Regions from separate parts of the Homo sapiens genome. Here regions 1, 2 and 3 are each linked to region 4. The links are contacts of gene promoters, found by promoter capture Hi-C in blood cells and fetal thymus (Javierre and others, 2016). All regions are on one chromosome and are shown on one strand. The core of a region is centred on a gene start or on the middle of the fragment in contact, and the rest is flanking DNA. Distances in the headings are between cores, read along the strand shown.

Evidence for each region. Contacts are between HindIII fragments. The CHiCAGO score rates a contact against its expected background, and 5 or more counts as called.
Region 1: a contact is called between a fragment that was not itself captured here and the fragment with the promoter of POU3F3 in region 4, in 1 of 17 cell types (endothelial precursors). The highest score is 7.0, in endothelial precursors.
Region 2: a contact is called between a fragment that was not itself captured here and the fragment with the promoter of POU3F3 in region 4, in 1 of 17 cell types (endothelial precursors). The highest score is 13.0, in endothelial precursors.
Region 3: a fragment that was not itself captured here is called in contact with the fragment with the promoter of POU3F3 in region 4 in 1 of 17 cell types (endothelial precursors); the score reaches 5.9 in endothelial precursors.

What each region holds. Positions count from the first base shown.
Region 1 is chr2:103,140,797-103,143,816 of GRCh38, forward strand. No RefSeq gene overlaps it. Among named protein-coding and RNA genes, the nearest start is that of LINC01935, 160 kb to the left of the region's middle. The HindIII fragment of the contact is 166 bases long and covers 1,207-1,372 here.
Region 2 is chr2:103,166,900-103,169,599 of GRCh38, forward strand. No RefSeq gene overlaps it. Among named protein-coding and RNA genes, the nearest start is that of LINC01935, 180 kb to the left of the region's middle. RefSeq lists a silencer at 2,162-2,265. The HindIII fragment of the contact is 4,318 bases long and covers 1-2,700 here.
Region 3 is chr2:102,968,619-102,971,490 of GRCh38, forward strand. It overlaps LINC01935 (long intergenic non-protein coding RNA 1935), which reads right to left. Exons shown (of 4, transcript NR_135530.1): 2 at 2,223-2,369; 3 at 319-436. Among named protein-coding and RNA genes, the nearest start is that of LINC01935, 14 kb to the right of the region's middle. The HindIII fragment of the contact is 677 bases long and covers 1,093-1,769 here.
Region 4 is chr2:104,852,797-104,855,892 of GRCh38, forward strand. POU3F3 (POU class 3 homeobox 3) reads left to right here and starts at 1,319. Exons shown (of 1, transcript NM_006236.3): 1 at 1,319-3,096. The coding sequence starts at 2,715. It also overlaps a transcript of PANTR1 not described here. RefSeq lists an enhancer at 923-1,512. The HindIII fragment of the contact is 8,766 bases long and covers 1-3,096 here.

The sequences.
Region 1 (3,020 bases), core at 40-2,539, 1.7 Mb before region 4:
TCCTAAACATCAGATGCTCTGAAAGTGCTGCCTTATGTTGGTTCACACCATGCCTAGAGCCGTCTTCAGTCCTGTTTTGTGCTGTTACACATGAGGCACCTTTTGCAGATTGGAATGCAACAAAGACCGGAAGAGCCCCTTGAATTCCCCTAGTCCTCTCTGAAGAGTAGAGACTCCTATAGAGTCAATCGGATTGATTTTAACCTTTTCAAAAACCCATGTGGATGCTATATTTCTCTTTAAAGGAGGATAATTATTTAATTATCTTCATGAATGCCCATGACACTTTGCACATCTGTGAATGGCCACTCTTTCCTCTCTAAATCTGGAGATGAGTTTAATGCCTTTTCAAACCATTAAATGTATTGGTTTTGACATTAGATAAATGCAATAACATAGCACATGTTCAGAGGGAAATTAATTATACAAGTATTTATTGAAAACTGATCATTGGCTAAAATCTATGGGATGGATGAAACACAATGAAAAAGAAGGAGGAGGAAGTAATCATGTAGATAGGGTTGCAGCAGATGGCCAGGCATGGACTGGGGAGATGAGAGCAGAGAGGCAGGAGGCAGCCTGGGTGCTAAGCCCTTTTCCTGCTCACAACCCTGTGTACATGACCTAGGCTCTACTGGTTGCCTCATTTGTGGGTATAGAAACTGGTGTGGAGAGAAATGGAGAGCTTGCTGCAAGTTGTGCTAGTCAATTTACTGTCTCGCCCCAGGGCTGTTACACCTAAGCTAGACAGTGTGTAGGCTCTGCTTGTAGATGATCTTGTGAGGTATACTATAGAATCAGGATGTTAACTTTAGGCAAAAAGGTGTGAGTTTTAAACAAAAGAATGTGACATCTAGATAATTCTAATGGCACTGTGAGCTGCACAGTGGGGTACTGGTGCAGGCATGGGAGTGGGGAAACGGATGAAGGCCCATGAAATCATTGCTCTGAAGGAAGAATCTATGTAACCCTCTTGAGAGATTCAACATACAAATGAACACTTGTCAGATCATGTATACAAATAGAACTCTGACCCATAATCTGCAGCAATCTGCCCAGGAAACAAACCTATTATCTACAACAACCAGCCCAGGAACCAGCCTGCTATCCTTAAGTCAGAAGTTCAGGCAGTCAGACCGCTATCTCTAGCAATAATCCTCAAAGCAGAACAGTAACCCCTGGAACAACCAGCTCCAAATAATTAAAAGCTTCCTAATTTCCCACCCATCCTCATCCCCCACCCACTTCCAAGTTAGGACCAGCTAGAGAAACCCAAACATGCCCCCCTAAGCATCACATAGGAGTCCAGGCTTCTAGTTAGCCTCCTCCAGCTCCCCCACACCAACAGCCTCTTCCCTGCTTTCTACCACGAAGCTTTCCCAGCCCTCTGGCTGCCTTTGGGTCTCTGTCAAACTCAAGTGCTGGTGGTCAGCTCCCTTGCTATGACAATCTCTGGATAAATAGCATTTGCTTGATCTCATTTGGATAGTCTTCCTTTATTTCCACATTTGTCTCCTGAAATACACAAGTCTATTAATGGAGATTGTCTATCCAACATTTAAAATGAGTAAACTAAAGCTCAGAGAAGCAAAGTTAACCTTGACCTCCAGTGCAAGGTCATGGAGCAGGTCAGAGGGAGAATTTAAATCTAAGTCAGACTGATACCCAAACCTATGCATTTAGTCACTCCGATGTCACTATCTCTTCATTTTTAGAATCGAAGAAAGGAGCTTCAGAGTTAGAAATTTGACTTTGAGAATTACTTCTGCAATGTTAACATTAGCTAACACTGTATCCTAGCCCATGGCTGGCATCTGATAATATTTTTATAAGTAAAATGACATTTGCATGGCTAATGGCCTCTTTTTAGAATGATGTGGAAGGTGAAGATCCCTTGTGTCCACAGTTGGTTTGTATGAGAAAACCTTGTCAGCCCTTCCCCTCTGCCATTCCTAGCTTTAGAAAACTTGAGGGATCTGTCCACCTAGCTGGTTGTGGATTTTTTAAATACTAAAATTGGAATATGATGATTGTATCTTGTGTCTGCTGATGAATTTGTGAGATTCAAATGACCTCATATATGTGAAAGCACTTTGTCAACTGTAAACTGCAGTATTAATCTAAGATATACTCAAAATAGTTACTAGAACTAATGTTTGACTTTGAAAGATTGTAAAAGAGGCATCAAATCTTAAAAGTGTTTTCAAGTACCTACAGCTCAATCATCCAATCTGCAAACAGCCACATACATCCCATATGGAATGACACAACATCAGTCTCATGGTCCCAAGTGGAATGTGAACTGCCAAGAAAGCTGAGTAAGGGCCTGTCTCTGCTACATACAATAGTGAGGGCTTTGGTGTCTGGTCTTTCTGAGCAGTGTTTTCCTTATCTCCTAGGTTGACAGGATCATCTCTGTCCAGCCTTCCTGGCGGGTCCTCTAGTGCATTTCCAAAGAGCTAATTCATAAGGAAGTGTTCTGTTAACTGTGAATGCCTACATAAATGCAAAGTACCACAATGTTGAATTTGAAAAGTGCTATTTAAGTGCCACTTATTATTACAGTGGTTATTGTTATAGTTGAAGAGTATAATGGATTTCAGCAACTAATGGTATGGATATATAATCTTTTACCACCACAAAACCTCCCTCGATGTTTTACTTTAATAACTATACTCCCTTTCATCTGTAGCTATATACTGATGTAATTAACCTTCCCTAGATTATGTGTTTTGCTTTTAATTCTAGATACACAACTTAGAATTATTTTGTTGTACTTACCCCTATAAATAGGCCCTATATCACTTCTAAATTACATAGCATTAGGGAGCATGCTACCAGGAGTACCACACTTATTATTTTCCATAAATATATTATGTATGACAATATCTTCCTACATGTGCAGCTTTAGTTATGACTTAGTGGATATAAATTATTTTGTAAAAAATTGTCAATCATTAGATTAGGAAAGATAAATAGTTAAAGAAAAAGTGCTGCCGGGCGGGGCGCAGTGGCTCATG
Region 2 (2,700 bases), core at 40-2,539, 1.7 Mb before region 4:
AATATGTTGGGCATCAGCCTGAGGAGTCCCAGGAAGGAGGAGGCAGCCAATGGAGAGCAAGTGCGGGAATAATTGGCTTAAAGTTCCACTGCACCACCCTGCCTTGGTGCCTTTATTCGTGTACACAATAGCTCTCCCTGGGCCCATATGGGGTAGAAGTTCACCAGCATCAGAAAGGTGCTTTCTCTTGGCTTTAGTTTAAACATTAGCTGCAAGACATCCTATTCCAGCCTGGTTTTACATTAACCAACTGTGAACCCAAGAACAGTATCCAGGAAATAGGGATGTGGGTAGACGTAGGAGGGAAGATAGGCATGGAATTCATTCCACTTTTTACCCACAGGCAAGTGGAAATTGTCCACTCATCTCTGGATCCCCCCAAAAAAAAACATTCTTAAGGAAATTATCTAGCTGAACTATTAAAATGGCATTATATTGAAATTTGTAAAAAGAACATTTGATTTTCCTAGAAAGTAAATGACTTCTAAGATTCCTTTCCAGTTTTTACTTGGTTGGAACCTTGTTCGATTAAATGTGCTTTTTCTCACAATATTCTTTAGAAATAGAAAGTACTGGGTAATTTGAATGAAATTAGAAAGATCTCTATTCCCAATTCCCCACCTTCCTCAAATGTAGACCCCAATTCACCCCTATGGTGCCCAGGTGTGAAGTTTAATGCTTTATCTTTCTGCTTCCAGGCTGTGACCACTGAAGTTTGCAAGTTCACCTTGGATTCATGGGGGCCTTTCCCCAAAGTAGCATCCCTTGTAGGAAACATTGCGGGAAATCCAGAACTCAGAAAGTGCCTATGCAAATGACATCCCGTTGCACCTAATTTCTTACTAGTGACAGAGCCACTGGCCCTGGGCACCTGGCGGCCTGCCTGCCTTTCCAGCCTGTGCTAACCAGACTCTCACAGCAGGCTGAGCTGTGCTTACCCACACATGCGAACGCATCTTGAACAACTTGAAGCACGGAGATGGGGCGGCATGTTCCAAATCAGCAGGAAAGGAAATTTCAGATGGTGGCAATCATCGCAGGGAAACGCACCTCACTGAAATCAATAGAATAATTTTTGATAATGTAGCCACTTGATCTGGTAATTGGGCCTTTCACCTGTAGTGAACGGCTTCACTGGAGACTTTCTTGAGCTATTAGATGCCTCTTACTTGGAGGCTATCCTGTTTTTATCTTTCAAAATATGTGGAGTAATTAGCTTTTGAGTTGAGTGCTTTCGCCTCTTCCTCACTCCCCTCACTCCCTTGCATTTCCACCCGCCCACCCCCAGCTTGCTCTTTTCCAGGCCTGCCCCCGCCCTGCCAGGAGCCACTTGGTATTGAGCCACTGCTCATCACAGAATTGTACAGTCGTTTGAGGGGCAGCACAATAAACCTCACTCCATTATCATCTTGTAAATTGATTTTTTTTTTAAATCTGGAGGGTGAGTAGGACTGCGCATCTGCATTCCCGACCCTTGTCTTCCTAGCCTTGGCTTGTAGCAGGGCTGAAGTACGATTGACAATGCTTCTAATCAGTGCTGTCTGGGGGCCAGGGAGTGATTTACCTGCAGTGGAGGAGGGTTGGCAATGTTACCTTGCATATCGTCCGATGACTAATTCTTTAGAAGTGAGACAATACATGTAGTATACTTCCGAGCATCACATTGGTTAACAGCTTTCTCATAAAATAGTGTTGGGAATATCAAGCCAAGGAATTACTGATAGTGAACAATTCAGGCATCCTTCCAAATCCATTCTTCTTAATTCTCCCAACAACCTGATGAGATATGTACTATTATTATAACTAAGTCCCCATTTTATGGATCAGGAAATCAGGGCATAGAGAAAATAAACAACCACCCTGACATCTCCAAGTTCACACAGGATGAGACTGGAATTCAAACCAAGGAATCTCAACCAGAGTCTGTGCCCTAGCCACTGCACTACCCTGCCTCTTAGGGTTGTAAGCTATACTTCCTGTCTCGATGTTACCTATGGGTACGATGTATGAATGCGAAACCAGTGTCATTTCCACAGGTCGCTACATGGCACTGCTTGCAAGACTCCGTCTGCCATTTTGTGTCACTTTAGAGACTCCAGAAGTGGAGACGATTACCACTGACAACCCCACAACAGTTCATTGCTCTCCCACCACATGGAATGCAGAAAGTTAAAGGATTTATTTTTCTAATACAACATTAAACAACCCTTGGGATACAAAGTTGAATTTTATTGCTTGTTAAATTATTTGAAGAGCAAAAGTATTTAAAAAGCATAGGACAATAATTAGCCGTATTTCTTTAGGGGTTTGTTGGTTTGACCTTAGCCTTTTAATCTGTCAAAGTATGCTAATCAGCCTGACAGACAGAAAGATCAAATACAGAGGCTGAGGCACTAGTAGGGAAAAGAGGAGAAGAGAGTAGATAAATGAAGGACCAACAGGACATGAAGGGGACCGTGGCCAATGGTCACTGCAGGTCTACCCTTCCAGAGTGACCCCAAAAGGCTCAGGGCTAGAGAGAGCCCCTAGAACAAAGCAAGTCACTGGTTTTGTTCCCAGTCCAGCAAAGTGAGCAAGCTCATCTGTGTTTGTTCCAGAAATCTTCTTTACCATGAGCTGAGCATGAAATGAATTGATTGTTTAAAAGGTTGTGGATGGGATGGAGATTATATCAAATCTTCTAATTTAAGGTTTAGATGT
Region 3 (2,872 bases), core at 181-2,680, 1.9 Mb before region 4:
CAACATGAACTCTGCTCTGTAGCAGATGATACATCAAACTCAGAGCCGCTTTTTCAACCCAGTATGGCTCACGTATTTAAAGAGGGAATGATTAGGAATGAAATTTGCACTTGAATATATGTGGTCCTTATTAATCTTGGTCAAATCTGGGGAGCAAATCTTTTTCCAAATCCATTGAGCTAAAATCTAGGCAGCAAAATTTCTTCCATTTTCACAATTTCCTCCTCTTCCACCCCCCTACACATATGAGATACAGTGAAGTGACAGAATACAGGTAACCAAACAGACTCAAACATTCCATCTAGAAAATGGAATTACCTGAATGTGATTAAATTGTACAAAGTCTTAAATGTTACAATGAGTGTTCACCAGCCTCCTGAAATATATCAGGGCATAGTTCATAAATACAATGGTGGCCTTCTTCTTTTATGGTGGCCTACAAAAAAGAACATAGAAAAATGAATCACCTCTAAATATTTTGAAAACTGATTTGAAATCACCCGAAGAGTGAGCAAAAAGGAAGTAAGTACAAGGCCAAAAACAGCATAAAGAATTGAAAAGGGATGAAATTGTAGGAGTGAGGCAAGGAACTTCAGTTACAAACCAAAATACAGGGACAGTTGGAACAAATTGATCCTCTTTTCATTTAGAGAGGGATAGAGAAGTGTAGCAACCTAGTTGGAAGCTCACCATTCTGAGTTCCTGAGCAATGCCAGTCACCAGTGCTTTGGGAGGGCCAAAATTCTGTCTACAATCTGATCTTGGGTGTGTTAGGAATTCACAATTTATCCACAGAGGCTGGAGTGCAAGATTTCAACCTGTGCAAGTGTGTGAGAATGTGTGTGTGTGCACACGTATGTATACACACGTATGTGTGCATGTATATGTGCGTGTGTGTGGATATGATAGATTTTATGCATGTAACTTCTTACTCTAGAGTGACTCAGAGCATCATTTTCTGTATCAATCTTCTTTCTTACGTGTCTAATATATTCATTTTGGAATTAGCATTTGAAAAATATTTTATATACCAGGGATGTACTTTTTTGTAACCAGATTCATCAAATTCTGTTCCCAAATTTCCTATGAGAAAGCTTATAGGGGTCATGGAGGAATGAGACAAAGACTGAGCTGTGCTGATTCCCAGACCTTTGTGAACACTGTAAATTCAGACCAGTTTAATTATCAGCCAATTGGTTATTCTATCATTGCAATGAAGCATTTCTTTCTTATTCACTGAGCTAATACAACATTTCCCCCTTGTTGCTGTCTATGGTCCAGCCACAAATAACTAGATGGCACTATCACCCTAATTTACTTATAGGCAGAGTGATTTTTGCCAAAGAAGGTATTGCAAAAATTTCTGCTTTTGCTCCAAAATCTACCCTAATGATTTACAGATGATCTCTCATTTTGAGTTAGTTAAAATTGTTACCCATCTGAGTTTACTCGTGGCTTCAGGTTAAATCAAAGTTCCTTGAAAAAAGTGAAAACATTTTTAAAATTCCCATATTTCTAAATTTTGTTAAATGCCAACATGAGTTACTGAGGCCCCACTGTAAACAGCCAACATCTGGGATAACGTCAGGTAATCTGGAAAGGTCAAAACCCCCGAAATTTAATAAGAGGAATCTATACATTGGTATGTGTTCTCCTGCATTAGAACTCACTTTGACTTGACTTGTTAGCACGGGACGTTAAACATCTAGGGGAGGATAGAGAGGACAATGGAAGCCTTTCTCAATATAGATTGAAATCTTCCACAAGAAAGCTTGGCATGGGCTGACATTTGACTGACTTATATTTTTTAAGAACCAAAACAGAAGGAATCACTGCACCTCCATTTCACTACTTTTGCCACGGATGATGAAGATGAGGAAGAGGATGAAGAGGGTGATAGTGAAGGTGTAAGCTGTTACCTAAATGTATGCTCCATTAACTGTCAATTCACGACTTCTGTCTGTTGTGTTATGATTAATTGCCTGGCTTGGGTTAGCAGTAGGCTATCTCAAATGACTCCTCATGAATTCCAGGATTCCTTCTTATGAAATGTGATAAAATACCTTTAGCTAAGTTTCCTTCTTTTCCTTCAGAAAATACATGAAATCATAGATTGCAGCTTACCCACACACAAATAAAACTGGGGATAGAATCTGCTGATCAAAATCACACTAGAAACCTAGGTTGTATTACTCCAGAAAGCCCATGACCCCATTACTTACTTTCTCACTTGGAAAGAATTCCTGTGAAAGATGATCGGGAGGTATTTTCACAAATGCTGCATTTGATACACAATGATGGAATGATCTTCATTTAGCAACAGGAAAGGGACTGGAGAAAACTGGAAATTCATACTTAGCATTTTCTTCCTGGCCCAACAACAAAAACATCAATGTCTGTGTGTTGGATCTATACATAGGATCAACACCCTGGGCACGTCTGACTGCCTGTTACATTTATAATTTGCTTTACTTTTAAAACATTTTCTCCGTAGCAACATAGTATTCTGTGAGGTTGGCTTTCATGCGATTTCCATTTTGGAGCTGCCGGACTCTGGCTCCGAGAGTTTGGGGTGCCTGTGAACCACCCAGCTGGTAACGGTGATGTCACGCTTAGAGGCAGGACTAATGCTTAGTGCTTTTCCTCCCCCACAGGACCCCACTCATTGTCCTCTAATACTACAGGTATCTCATTATTGCCTGAAATTGCATCAATCCTTCCCTACACATGGGGGGAATGTCCAGGACAAAATGTAATATTGAAAAACATAAGACATGGGCCTGAGATTCATGAGCTAGAAGAGCACTTAAGCTTTTGCACTCTGCCTCCCTTCTAGGCTTTGTATGTTTTCAAGAGAATTCTCAGGAAGCAT
Region 4 (3,096 bases), core at 69-2,568:
CACTCCCCCTCCCATCCCCCTTAACTCTTTCAGCTGGGTTAGAGCTGAGAAAGCATTTGTCGCCGCCAGCCCCATCCACCACGCAAATCCATCTGAGACAGAAAGGAAAGAAAAAAAAGCACCACCATGCCTAAGAATAGAGAGCGAGCAAACCCCCCCACCGCTAATCACACACACACACACACACACACACACACACACACACGAGGAAGCGGTGGAGCAGAGAAGGGCGCGGCTAGCCGATCCCGGTTCTTTCGCCCGGCTCCTGCTGCCACAGGGAATTCCTAAAGCCATTGGGGTCGAATACACTTACGATGAATCTATGGGGGAAGGTCGGACTGATTGCTTTTCAAATACATCGCACGGCTCCGCTGACCGGCACCCTCCAAACTCACAAGGGCACGCACGCTACTTGCACGAATCCCAGAGGAGGGAGGAGGGAGGAAGGGAGGGAGAGCGAAGGAGGGAGAGAGGGGGTGGAGGAGCCAGGGAGCGGCGGCAGCGAGCGGTCCGTCTCGCACGCGCGGGCACCGCGCTGGTCCTGGGCTGCAGGTTTCCCAGATGATGGCATCCGAGAACTTAAACAAAGGGGGCTGCCGCCGGCGCGCAACGGCTGCGGAAAGTTGCGGTGGCGGATTTCCAAGGAGCGTGGCCACGACCAGAGCTCTTGGCGATGCGAGCCCCCGCTTCCCACCCCCGCCGATCAGAGAAGGGGGCCGGCTGGTGAAGGGAAGAGGAAACTTTGAAACCACTGGGGACACATCTGTCTATAGGTATTAGCTTGAATGGTACATCCGTGCCGCGCGCTTTACAAATCTCTGGCGGGGCGGGGGTAAGGGGGTGAGCAACCCGACGCGTACTAGGTGGGGTGGGCAGGTTGCTATTTTTCATGTTTCCCCCTTCGTTTTCCTTCTGATTCTCTTCCCCCCTCTCGTCCCTCCCTCCCTTTTATCTCCCCTTTCTTCCCCCCGCCCAGACCTATTGCGAACGCCCAGAGCCGCCGAGGGAACGCCAACGTCTGGGCCGGACACTAAGAGTTAAGATGTGGCGGAGGGGGCGGCGGGGGAGGGGCGGGGAGGGGAAAGTGGTGAGGGGGAGGGAGGCTGGAGGACGACAGATTTCCAGCTTCTACGACGCTCTGCCTAAATTAAAAAGCAACCAATCGGAACGGCCGGAAGGGGGGCCTCGCGTCCTGAGCCAGTCATTCCGAGCCTGCCAATCACCCAGCGGGTAGCCAATCAGCGGGGGCCCTGGTGCTCGACTTCCTTGTATTTGGGAAAGTGTGGTGGTGGGTGCGCGCTCGCGGCGGAGGGTAAACATTCGACAGTCCCCGCTCTGAGAGGGAGGGACAGAGAGCGAACTGTCAGATCGGAGCGAGAGCGGGCGCCCGAGAGAGGGAGAGAGAGAGAGGGAGGGAGAGGAAAAGTGAGAGAGGGAAAGAGAGCGCGAACGAGGGCGCAGAGCGAGCTCCTGCTGCAACTCTGCTCCAGCACGGCCAGCGCCAGCGCCCGCCGTCGGTGCACTCTACGAGCCGTGCAGCGTGCCCACTGGAGTTGTTGTGTATCAAGGATCGATCCCCTATATGCACACACACACCTCCACCTCCACCAATGCACTCTTCTTCCTCCTCCTTCTCCAGACAACTGCTGGGAAAAAAATAAAACACCAACCCCAACCGTCAGCAACAAGGTAACAGAGCGATTCGACATCATTTTTTTTCCTGTTCAATTTTTTCCTTGTTATATTTGTTTCCTAATTTCTGCCCAAAAGGAAAGATGTCGCATCAGACTGTGACTGTTGCGAGGAGAATGAAAAAGGACTCTTGTTTCAGAGGCAACCAAGAGCTCCGGCAATAGCAACTTCAGAGAAATGCACCATCGCAAGAAGTTTTCCTAGGACAGAACAAAACTTGAAACGAGAGGACCAGAGGGGGAGAGCAGGAGCCAGCCTCCCCTCTCCGCACTCGCGAGCAGCCAGCAGCACCACGCCTTCAAGGACGAAAAAGTTTTACTACTCTAAGGGAAAACGAGTGAAATGTGTTCCTGAGGAGGAGAGGAGAGGAGAGGAGAGAGCGGACAAGAGAAGGAGCGGGCCGGTTGCTGGTCATCCGTAATTTGGCTAAGGAAGAAAGGAGCAGCTTCTTTCTTTGTTATCTCCCGTGAAACCTTCACTTAGCAGGTGGACGGAGCCCCGCGACCGGGCAGAGTCCGGGCTCGCCCGAGGACAGGAGGAGGAGCGGGAGCCCGCGCGTCCCGGGAGAGCGCCCCGAGTGCAGGTCCCCGCCCCGCCCGGCGAGCCCCGCTGGAGCGAGCCCAGCGCGCCGGGGCTGGGGGGCGGCCACGACCCCCCCTGAAGGGGGTGGCCACGGAGCGCACCCCGAGAAGCGAGCCCCCCTCCCCAGAGCGCTGCTCCTGCGGCTGCTGCTGCTGCTGGTGACCAAGGCCGGCCGGCGACCCCCGCGCCCTGCCGAGCGGCCTTGCAGCTGCAGCCGGGGGCCGCGGCGGCGGCGGCGGCGGCGGGGGCGGAGGCGGCGGCGGAGGAGGAGGCGGCGAAGGCGGCGGGGCCGGCGGGGGCCCGGGGCGGGGGCGGGGAAGGAGGGGGGGAGGAGGCGGGAGGCGGGGGGCGCGGCGGCGGCGGCGGCGGCGGCGGCCGCGGCTGCTGCTGCGGCGGCGGCGGCGGTGGTGGCGGCGGTGGGGTGGCGGGAGCGGAGCGGCATGGCCACGGCGGCTTCTAACCCCTACCTGCCGGGGAACAGCCTGCTCGCGGCCGGCTCTATTGTGCACTCGGACGCGGCAGGGGCTGGCGGCGGCGGGGGTGGCGGCGGCGGCGGCGGCGGGGGCGGCGCAGGGGGCGGGGGCGGCGGCATGCAGCCGGGCAGCGCCGCCGTGACCTCGGGCGCCTACCGGGGGGACCCGTCCTCTGTCAAGATGGTCCAGAGCGACTTCATGCAGGGGGCCATGGCCGCCAGCAACGGCGGCCATATGCTGAGCCACGCGCACCAGTGGGTCACAGCCCTGCCCCACGCCGCCGCCGCCGCCGCCGCTGCCGCCGCCGCCGCCGTGGAGGCGAGCTCGCCGTGGTCGGGCAGCGCCGTGG